3 separate regions of the Homo sapiens genome follow, and regions 1 and 3 are each linked to region 2. The links are contacts of gene promoters, found by promoter capture Hi-C in blood cells and fetal thymus (Javierre and others, 2016). All regions are on one chromosome and are shown on one strand. The core of a region is centred on a gene start or on the middle of the fragment in contact, and the rest is flanking DNA. Distances in the headings are between cores, read along the strand shown. Region 1 overlaps DCK (deoxycytidine kinase). Region 2 holds the start of RUFY3 (RUN and FYVE domain containing 3). Region 3 overlaps DCK (deoxycytidine kinase).

Region 1 (3,723 bases), core at 765-3,264, 280 kb before region 2:
TCCTCTGGCCTCAGCCTCCCGAAGTGCTGGGATTGGCTGCTCTGCCTATGGAGTAGCCATTCTTTATTGCTTTACTTTCCTAATAAACTTGCTGTCACTTAAAAAAAAAAAAATTCCAGGATTACATGCATAAACCACCACACCTGGCCTTGCTTTCAATTTCAATTCTCATTTCTCCAGAAACGAAAATCTTAGCAACGTCTCTCTCACACATACAACCATACATTTTGGTATTTAAAAAAATGACACTGAACTCTGTCATTCTCTTTCTTCCTCATTTGCAGTGCAGAACGGTAAAATGCTGCAAAATTACAACTTCTGCCCAGAGTGAAAGTCTGGCAAGAATGAAAGTAAAAAGAAATGAGAGTAAATGACAAAAGGCTTGAAAGGTAAAATTCAGTTACTGAATAGTAGTTTTTCTTTTTCTTATTTGCTTTTTTTTTTTTTTTTTTGGTGTTTTTGTTTTTTCTGTTTTTTTTTTTTTTGAGATGGAGTGCAATGGCGCGATCTCGGCTCACTGCAACCTCCACCTCCCGGGTTCAAGCAATTCTCCCGCCTCAGCCTCCTGAGTAGCTGGGATTACAGGCGCCCACCACCACGCCCAGCTAATTTTTGTATGTTTAGTGGAGACAGGGTTTCACCATGTTGGCCAGGCTGGTCTCGAACTCCTGACCTCAGGCGATCCACCTGCCTCGGCCTCCCAAAGGGCTGGGATTACAGGTGTGAGCCACCGCACCCGGCCTTATTTGCTTGTTTTTAAACAAAATGTGAAAAGACACTGAAGGGTTGGGCATAGTGGCTCAGGCCTGTAATCCAAACATTTTGGGAGGCTGAGGCAGGCGGATCACCTGAGGTCAGGAGTTTGGGCCCAGCCTGACCAACATGGAGAAACCCCATCTCTAGTAAAAAAAATTAGCCAGGCATGGTGGCCCATGCTTGTAATCCCAGCTACTTGGGAGGCTGAGGCAGGAGAATCGCTTGAACCCGGGAGGCGGAGGTTGTGGTGAGCCAAGATCGAGCCATTGCACTCCAGCCTGGGCAACAAAAGCGAAACTCCATCTCAAAAAAAAAAAAAAATTAGAAAAGACAATGAAGGAATTTAATTTGCTGTTAGATTTTTTAAAACTTTTATTATTTAACTTTTTAAAAACTTTTAGATTCCCAGGCAAGATGGCCAAATAGGAACAGCTCTGGTCTGCAGCTCCCAGTGAGACCAATGCAGAAGACGGGTGATTTCTGCATTTCCGACTGAAGTACCCAATTCATCTCATTGGGACTGGTTATACAGTGGGTGCAGCCCACAGAGGCCAAGCAGAAGCAGGGTGGGGCATCGCCTCACCTGGAAGGTGAAAGGGGTGGGGGAACTCCCTCCCCTAGCCAAGGGAAGCCTTGAGGGATGGTGCTATCCAGCCCAGATACTAGGCTTTTTCCCACAGTCTTCACAACCCGCAGACCAGGAGATTCCCTCGGGTGCCTACACAAGGGCCCTGGGTTTCAAGCACAAAACTGGACAGCCATTTGGGCAGACACGGAGTTAGCTGCAGGAGTTTTTTTTCATACCCCAGTGGTGCCTGGAATGCCAGCGAGACAGAACCGTTCACTCCCCTAGAAAGGGGGCTGAAGCCAGGGAGCCAAGGGGGCTGAAGCCAGGGAGCCAAGTGGTCTTGCTCAGCAGATCCCACCCCCACGGAGCCCAGCAAGCTAAGATCCACTGGCTTGAAATTCTCACTGCCAGCACAGCAGTCTGAAGTCAACCTGAGACACTGAAGCTTGGTGGGGGGAGGGGTGCCCGCCATTACTGAGACTTCAGTAGGTGGTTTTCCCCTCACAGTGTAAACAAAACCACCTGGAAGTTCAAGCTGGGCAGAGCCCACCACAGCTTGGCAAACCCCTGAAGCTAGACTGCCTCTCTAGATTCCTCCTCTCTGGGCAGGGCATCTCTGAAAGAAAGGCAGCAGCCCCCGTCAGGGACTTACAGATCAAACTCCCATCTCCCTGGGACAGAGCATCTGGGGGAAGGCGTGGCTGTGAGTGCAGCCTCAGCAGACTTAAACAATCCTGCCTGCTGGCTCTGAAGAGAGCAGTGGAACTCCCAGCGCAGCGCTCAAGCTCTGCTAAAGGACAGGCAGCATCCTCAAGTGGGTCCATGACCCCCATGCCTCCTGACTAGGACACAGCTCCCAGCAGGGGTCGGCAGACACCTCATATAAGAGAGCTCTGGCTAGCCTCTGGCAGGTGCCCCTCTGGGACAAAGCTTCCTGAGGAAGGAGCAGGCAGCAATCTTTGCTGTTCTGCAGCCTCCGCTGGTGATACCCAGGCAAACAGGATCTGCAGTGGACCTCCAGCAAACTCCAGCAGACTTGCAGCAGAGGGGCCTGACTGTTAGAAGGAAACTAACAAACAAAAAGCAATAGCATCAACATCAACAAAAAGGACAACCACGCAAAAACCCCATCTGAAGTTCACCAACATCAAAGACCAAAGGTAGATAAATCCACAAAGATGAAGAAAAGCCAGTGCAAAAAAGCTAAAAATTCCAAAAACCAGAATGTCTTTTCTCCTCCAAAGGACCACAACTCCTCGCCAGCAAGAGAACAAAGCTGGATGGAGAATAAGTGTGACGAATTGACAGAAGTAGGCCTCAGAAGGTGGGTTAATAACAAACTCCACTGAGCTAAAGCAGCACGTTCTAACCCAATGCAAGGAACTAAGAACCTTGATAAACGGTTACAGGAACTGCTAACTAGAATAACCAGTTTACAGAAGAACATAAATGACCTGATGGAGCTGAAAAACACAGCATGAGAACTTGGTGAAGCATACACAAGTATCAATAGCCGAATCGATTAAGTGGAAGAAAGGATATCAGAGATTGAAGAAAAACTTAATAAAAATAAAGCGTGAAGATAAGATTAGAGAAAACAGAATGAAAAGGAACAAACAAAGCCTCCCAAGAAATATGGGACTATGTGAAAAGACCAAACCTACGTTTGACTGGTATACCTGAAACTGACGAATGGAACCAAGTTGGAAAACACATTTCAGGATTATTATCCAGGAGAACTTCCCCAACCTAGCAAGACAGGCCAACATTCAAATCCAGGAAATACAGAAAACATCACAAAGATGCCCTTGAGAAGAGCAACGCCAAGACACATAATCGTCAGATTCACCAAGGTTAAAATGAGGGAAAAAATGTTAAGCGCAGCCAGAGAGAAAGGTCGGGTTACCCACAAAGGGAAGCCCATCAGACTAACAGCAGATCTCTCGGCAGAAACCCTACAAGCCAGAAGAGAGTGGGGACTAACATTCAACATTCTTAAAGAAAAGAATTTTCAACCCAGAATTTCATAACCAGTCAAACTAAGCTTCATAAGTGAAGGAGAAATAAAATCCTTTACAGACAGGCAAATGTAGAGGGATTTTATCACCACAAGGCCTGCCTTACAAGAGCTCCTGAAGGAAGCATTAAATATGGAAAGGAAAAACCGGTACCAGCCACTGCAAAAACATACCAAAATGTAAAGACCATCGACACTATGAAGAAACTGCATCAACTAACAGGCAAAATAACCAGCTAGCATCATAATAACAGGATCAAATTCACACATAACAATATTAACCTTAAATGTAAATGGGCTAAATGCCCCAGTTGAAAGACACAGAGTGGCAAATTAGACAGAGTTAAGACCCATCAGTGTGCGGTATTCAGGAGTCGCATCT
Region 2 (3,702 bases), core at 353-2,852:
AGAAAACCTCTCATAAATTAGCAAGAGTCCTGGAAAAAAGTCGCAAGTCAAGAGACCACAAAGATCTCAGAGGTACTGACAGTGGAAATCTCAAATGGATCATAATAGTTACCACAAATAATTTATAAAAAGCAATGGCCAATAGATTCCAATATTACCATTCTATTGTAATCTATAGGGATGCCATATTAATCATATTTAACCTTTCCAGGCATTATGCTTTCTTAGGAGTCCATATTCAATAAATAAATGCTGAAAAGTTATTTTCTCATCTAACCTAATAATCCATATTGTTAAAAAAATGTTTTATCAAACATTTCCTAGATGTCATAACTTGCTTAAAATTGTATCCTCATATAATGGTGAGGATACCATTACCAAATACCCTGGTGTTTCTACTGTATTCATCATGTACAATCCTATAATTATAGTCATGTTGTCTTAACTTAGTGTTATAAATCACTACAATTTCTATAACATTTTCATATATGAACAAAATTAATAGCTTTCTCATTATTGAATAGAATCAGATGTGATAAGTGACCTCAAATGTTTTATTTAGAGGCTTAAAGACAAAGAACTCTAAACGAGTATCCAGCATCTTTTGAAAGGATACCTAAAGGGGCAAGAAAAAAAATTATCTTTCCCCCATGAGCAAGAGAAGGGGAGCTGGGTGGTAAGTAAGGATGCAAGGTTTTCAGGACTGTTAACAGTTGAGAGTGTAGGTTCTTTCTACCTCTCCCTGATCCTCCCAGCCCTCCCCCATAACAATGAGGATGCTGGTGAAATACTAGCGGACAGGATCTGACCATACCTTCATGGGTAGGCTCTGGGTCAGGTGTAAGTGAGATGTCATCCAGCTCTCGCAGGCAGAGCCATTCTCCATCCATGGACACTCGGAATTTGCAAAGGTAGATGGTCTCCATGGCAGCCTGTGTGATCTTGTCAGTGGTGGGGGTTGGCATATCGGTCGGAGGCGTCAGAGCAGACATGATGACTCAGCTGGGACCACAACACACACACAGACACACACACACTCACACACACACACCAAAAAAATAAATACAACCTCCTCACCAAAAAAACCCAATACAAAGCTCTGAAACAAAGCTTTCAGGAAAAGGGTGGGGGAGGTTTAAAAAAAAAAAAAAGGAAAAATACCTTATAGGTTAAGAACAAACTGCTCAAGATAAACAATTCTACACTATCTTATAGACAGTTCCTACCACATAGCAAAATAAGATGATGCTTGTCTTCTCCCAGCTTCCTCTCCTTTTATCTTCCCTTCCCTGCCCCCCACCTTTTTTTTCAGCTGAGCTATAGGCTTTAAATCCCGCACAGCTGATGCTGCCTTAGCTGGCTTTAAAAATCTGGCCTCGATATGAGTAAGTGAAAAATCCTCCTCCTTTGTGCAGAAAAAAAATATAAAAGAAAAACCTGAACAAAAAATAAACCTATATTTTCAATGTAGCTTAAAAAAAAAATCCTGAGCTGCAGAAATCACTTCCAGGATCTGCTCAGATGAGCTGGGATGCTGAGTTCTCATAGGATTGGCCGTGCGCAGTAAGCAGGGTGTTGACCAAAATGGCTGACTAATGAACTGAACTGAAAATTCAGGCTCATGTGACCAGCTGCTCTGAACGTAGGGCAAGCAATTCCCAGGATGCTTTATAGATGCTGCTGATGCTGGGAGAGCAATTAGGCTTCTCTCTCTCATCCTGTACAACCCACTTCCAGACTGTGCTAGTCAAACTGTGATCAGACATAACACAATGCACATATCCTCATCAATTCTTCTTACTTTGGGATCAAGGACTGAATAAAAGGATGACAATTAATACCGGATAATAATCTATAGTAAAGATGGTAAAAGAGGCAGTTAGATTAATTTAACAAGCATATAATTCACCTCTTTCATTCTTATCTACATAGCTATTAAAATTCTTTACTATGCTAAATGTTATGTTTTAAGAAAAGCTAAAGCATAAAAAATTGAGGTTCTCAGAGGGAAAAAAAACAAAAAGATAAAAAGAAAAGCTAAAGTAGATTTTCAATTTAAATATCTTATTCTTGGGCATTTATAATTTCCTTCTCCAAGGTACAAAAACCTGACCTTTTAGGTTAGGCAGAAATGCAAAAAAAAAACTTCAAGTTAAAAAAGTAAAATCTTTCCCAATTAATGGCAATTTCCCCCCTTTTTGATTTTGTTGTATTTATCAAGTTTCTGTATTAAGCATAAAATACGTTTCTTTTTTTTTCTTTTTTCTTTTTTGAGACAGAGTCTTGCTCTGTAGCCCAGGCTGGAGTGCAGTGGCGTGATCTCAGCTCCCAGGTCCAAGCAATTCTCTGCCTCAGCCTCCCGAGTAGCTGGGATTACAGGCACCCACCACCACGCCCAGCTAATTTTTGTATTTTTAGTAGAGACGGGGTTTCACCATCTTGGCCAGGCTGGTCTTGAACTTCTGACCTCATGATCCTCCCACCTCAGCCTCCCAAAGTGCTGGGATTACAGGCGTGAGCCACCATGCCCAGCCTTAAGCATGAAATATGTTTCTAAGCAGATTAAACCATGTTATATTTTTAAAATCCTCCCATTCGATAAGATACTGAAGACAATTATATTTTCTTAATACACACACACACACACACACACACACACACACACACACACACACACGGCCCTATATTATCCAATGAGGCATTTATACCTTGGTAGCAAAAGGGCAGGTACTTGCTTTATGAACTACATAAATTACAAAGAGAAGAATAAGAATTTTCTTTGAAAATGTTTTGGACAATTGAAAGAAAGTGTTTGTTTGTTTTTGTATTGAAGGGTTCCAATTTTAAGGAGGAACATACAAATTCAAGAAATATGACCTGAGACTATTCCTTTCTAGGGATTGTTATCAGAGGGACATCTTGATTTACCTAATTTCTGAAAACTAAAAAAATTCTCCTTGAATATTGTTAAAATCTCAAATGCTTCATCATAATTTGAGACTGAACTGAAAGAAAAAAATGCTAATAATCAAATTCTGTAGAGAAACTGGCATTTTCATATTGTTACGAAGACAGGGCGGATGGCTGGGCGCGGTGGCTCATGCCTATAATACCAGCACTTTGGGAGGCCAAGGCGGGCAAATCACCTGAGGTCAGGAGTTCGAGACCAGCCTGGCCAACATGGTGAAACCTCATCTCTACTAAAAATACAAAAATTAGTCAGATGTGGTGGCATGTGCCTGTAATCCCAGCACTTTGGGAGGCTGAGGCAGGTGAATGGCTTGAGCTCAGGAGTTTGAAACCAGCCTGGGCAACATGGCAAAACTCCATCTCTACAAAAACAAAAATTAGCAAGGTATGGTTGCGCGCACATGTGGTCCTAGCTACTTGGGAGACTGAGGTGGAAGAATCACGTGAGGCCAGGAGGCAGAGGCTGCAGTGAGCCGAGATCATACCACTGCACTCTACCCTGTCTCAAAATAAAAAAAAGAAGGAGGGTATACTGGTACAATGTAAGAAGGCATATATATAGGCTTATTTATAATTGGGGAAAATCAGTAAGTTACTAAGGAAAGCAAAATACTCCTGGTTTTATTTCTATCTCATTCTCTCTCATCATTACCCTACATCTAGACTCAGAGCCATTCATTCATTCATTCATTCAACAGATATTCACTAAGAGGTGCTCCACATGCCAGGTAG
Region 3 (3,794 bases), core at 1,002-3,501, 300 kb before region 2:
CACTTAACAGAATATAGTCAACTCCCAGTGATTTGGGCAATAAATGAACTGTGATTAAGACAATGACTCAATGATTAAGTAATGTCAATTAATCCTTGACATGATCCCAAATGAAACTCAAAACTAAAATCCCTTAATCTCAAGACTTTGGCCAACATAAAAATAGATGAGATCCATATCCTGTAACTTTAAATATCCTCCATATTGAATTTAGTTGAAAAAGATAAATTTAATTTCACAAGCAGTTTATTATTAAAGTATCTAAAGATTGGTGGTGTAGGGAAGAGAGGAAGAAATGGGGACAAAGCAGAGAAAAAGGGGGTGAGAAAGAATTTTTGTTATTATAATTTTACCTATCCTACAGATAGAGGCACTAAAGGATAAAAAAAAATCCTTATTTTATTTTTATTTATTTAATTTTTTTCTAAGATCTGTCAGATTCTGAGATTCCGAAGGATCTTTATTTTAGCTCAGGCCACAAAGCTAGAATTTAGTCAGGACTGGAATCTTAAACAGTCCAAAATCTTCTAAAGCTCTTAACTGTTTCTTAATGTAACTTTATGGAAGCTTTTCTGTTAGAAAATTGTTTTCTCACCACTCAGTACACTTTTTTAGAAAAAACAAATATTTGTTTGTAGTCTGTCTAAATCTACCTTTTCAACCAGACTTTCATATTTGTCTTTAAAGTCTTCATTAACATCCAGTGTTAAGATAGGCACCTCTTGAAGATAATCGAAGTTGGTTCTGTTTAAAAAGAGAGATTAATAAAATAATCAGAAATTCAACAAAAAAAAGAGAGAAACATTAAAAATTCATTCGTATGTCCTTGGAAAATCAAAATGTTGTCAATCATTTACACTAAAGTTACTTTGCAGTACTTCATCTGGCAGCCCCTTCTTTCTCATCTAGATTTACCATATGGAGCCCAAAAACTTAGGTACAAAATATATACAGCTGGGTACTGTAACATATGATTCTCTTCAAAAACAAATAGCAGTCAATAAAGTAGGAATTTCTGCATTTTTAAAGATGAGAAAACTAAAGCTCAGAATTGTCATTCTGAAGCTCAGAGGCTATCCAAGGTCACACACCAGTAAGACTGGACTTGAGCCAAGATCTGACTAATAACAAAGTCTATCCTCTCAACAACCACGCTATACAATCTCCCAAGTCAAAATTCTTTCTGAAAGAGTACCTAAATAATGTTCAGATATATTCCTACTTTATCACTTAAAGTGAAATTTCACATATTACGCTATCAATACCACCAAGGGATACTAGTTATAAAAACTTTAAGTAAATAGGATCTCATTGCAATCAAGAGAATGAAAATCTATACCTAGTTCTGGAAGATACCAATAAGCAAAACGACTGGAAATTTTACATATTGCTAGTCATATCTTCCAAATTTTAGATTAAAATTTAACAAAGGTAACAAAGGTATTTAAAATGAATAGTAAATAAAAATAAGTCTTACTTCAGTGTCCTATGCAGGAGCCAGCTTTCATGTTTATAATGAAGCTTCTCTAAATATTCAAGAGGAATGCCTTGCTCTTCATTTCTTCCCCGTAAATATATTCTATGTAAGCATGTCTAAAAGCAAGTAATAAGAGATGGAAGAAAAAGGCAGGGAACAATTATTCTTGTCTGCTGCCATCAAAATTTTCTTTTCTGTGTCTCTCTACTCACGCTAGCCAAAATCTCTACTTATTACTTCTTAAAAGCTGAAATAATTCATTTTTCCCTCCATGAGCTTTTCAGCCACTTGGTGGCTCTAAGCCAAGCAGTACTTTCAAAAATAAGCCTATAAATTTTTGGTATCCATCCACACATGAAATATACTAAGTTTGATAAAAAGGAGAAAAAAATTAAACATCTACTTAAAATGTTCAGAGACAACAGCTAAAAGGTATGCCAATCTATAAACATAATCTTACTTTGCTGTTAACCAACCTTGATTACAAAATATCTATGTTCAGTTCACATAAAACCACTAAAGACAGTGGTTCTTAATGTGATGAAAACTCTATATCAGCACAACCAAAACAACTTTGGAATGTTTTATGCCTGTCCTATATCTGCATTATCAAATAAGGTAGCCACCAGCCACCTGTGGTTTTTAAGCACTTGAAATATGGCTAGTGTGGTGACCAAGGAACTAAATATCTAAATTTTATTTAATTTTAATAACCCTAAATTTAAATAGCCACATTGGACAGTGCAGCTCTAGATAACGGTCCCCCAAAAGCACACATACATAAAAAATTTCGTATAATTTGTGGGGGCTCATATACCATGAGAAACTCTTCATGCATTCCAAGAAATAAAAGCCTCCAACCTAAATGACATGCATAAGACCATGGCAGCATACAAACTGTGTTTCAAACTCTACTCTAAATTCTCTTTTCAATAATTAAACAATCCTTTCATCCAAAGATATCAGAAACAATACTGATGAAATTATCAGTATCAAAATGAAATTATTAGTATTATTTATGTTTTTGGTGTTTGTACTATTTTCATAACTTTAAGAAACCTTTTCAAAAATAAAAGTGAATTTCAAAATTATTATATTTGCTAAATTCTAGCTTAATAGTGACTATAAATGTTTCAAGCAAAATGAAATTATTCATATTCCTTATGTTCTTTTTCACATTTTTATTTACTATTTTTGTAATTAAAAACAAAAAAATTCAAAAATAAAAGTGAATTTCAAAATTCACTTTTGAAATTGCTAAAAAATTGCTAAATCCTTGCTTAATGAAGAACAAAATCTTTACTTAATGAAGAACAAAATCATCCGTTGGAATAGGAAACCTAATTTCTTTGAAAACCCAGCTTCGACAGCAACACAGTATTCTAATTTTAGGCCAGAAGTCATAACATTTACATTCATCAGTGCCTACCCTGTGACTTAAGGAAAAAATGAGAATTAAAAAACAGAAACAATAGAAATGCACGCACCAAAACCAGAAAGCTTCTGATTAAATGTAAGATCTTAATATTTAGGTTAGTTTTATGAAAGGCATCTATTTGGTCATCCTGTATTCATTATATAACATCATATGTAACTAGAATAGCTATGTTACAACCTATCACAAAAAGCACCTTTTCAAGTGAGCTCCCTTAATGGAAAATGGCAAGGGTCCTCTAAGTCTTTTCCCAACGATAGCTGCCATTATCCACTCATTCCAAGGCACAAACAACCATAATAAAATATTTCTTGATATGGACCTCCATCAACATTGCCATTCATTCAGTAAATATTTACTGAGCTCCTACTATATGCTCCAACAGTGCCCAGCACTGGGTGTTCTAGGCAATGGAAATTCAATAGTAATCAAAATGCCCAAGGTCCCACCTCATGAAGCCTATATTCTAGGAGTTGCTTGACCACATTCATTACTTTAACTGTGATGAATGAGAAGAGTCTGCAAATGTTAGAAAGAAATAATGAGTAAAATAAAAAAGAATTGAGGAAGCACAAAGAGCCTAAAACAGCAACTTGCCCAGTCTGGGATTCCAGTTTGCTGAGAAAAAAGAATGCTTCTATCTACACAGTTACAAGTTTCTAATTTAGAGGTGGGGAGTGGGAGGTTGGGAGGCTGGAGTTAAACTAAATTGCCCTCATTATATACCACTGAAAAGAGTTCTAAATATTTCTTTAAATTTTCAGTGAAACACATTTTTATTGGGTTTTACCTCTGGAGTGGCTTGAAGATAAATGATTCCATCCAATTCAAGGCTTTGGCCAAATTGGTTATTCATCCAGTCATGCCAGTCTTGATAAATTG

The links. The method cuts DNA at HindIII sites, captures the fragments that hold promoters and counts their contacts. A CHiCAGO score of 5 or more calls a contact.
Region 1: a contact is called between a fragment that was not itself captured here and the fragment with the promoter of RUFY3 in region 2, in 1 of 17 cell types (fetal thymus). The highest score is 5.3, in fetal thymus.
Region 3: a contact is called between a fragment that was not itself captured here and the fragment with the promoter of RUFY3 in region 2, in 2 of 17 cell types (total B cells and monocytes). The highest score is 5.5, in total B cells.

What each region holds. Positions count from the first base shown.
Region 1 is chr4:71,002,863-71,006,585 of GRCh38, reverse strand. All of the region lies in intron 2 of DCK (deoxycytidine kinase), which reads right to left. Among named protein-coding and RNA genes, the nearest start is that of DCK, 11 kb to the right of the region's middle. RefSeq lists enhancers at 43-182, 1,703-1,962, 1,655-2,351 and a silencer at 1,960-2,254. The HindIII fragment of the contact is 485 bases long and covers 1,772-2,256 here.
Region 2 is chr4:70,719,864-70,723,565 of GRCh38, reverse strand. It overlaps RUFY3 (RUN and FYVE domain containing 3), which reads right to left and starts at 1,602. Exons shown (of 18, transcript NM_001037442.4): 1 at 815-1,602. The coding sequence starts at 992. The HindIII fragment of the contact is 24,519 bases long and covers 1,113-3,702 here.
Region 3 is chr4:71,023,615-71,027,408 of GRCh38, reverse strand. It overlaps DCK (deoxycytidine kinase), which reads right to left. Exons shown (of 7, transcript NM_000788.3): 4 at 3,703-3,794; 5 at 1,478-1,593; 6 at 654-744. Among named protein-coding and RNA genes, the nearest start is that of DCK, 32 kb to the right of the region's middle. The HindIII fragment of the contact is 1,456 bases long and covers 1,524-2,979 here.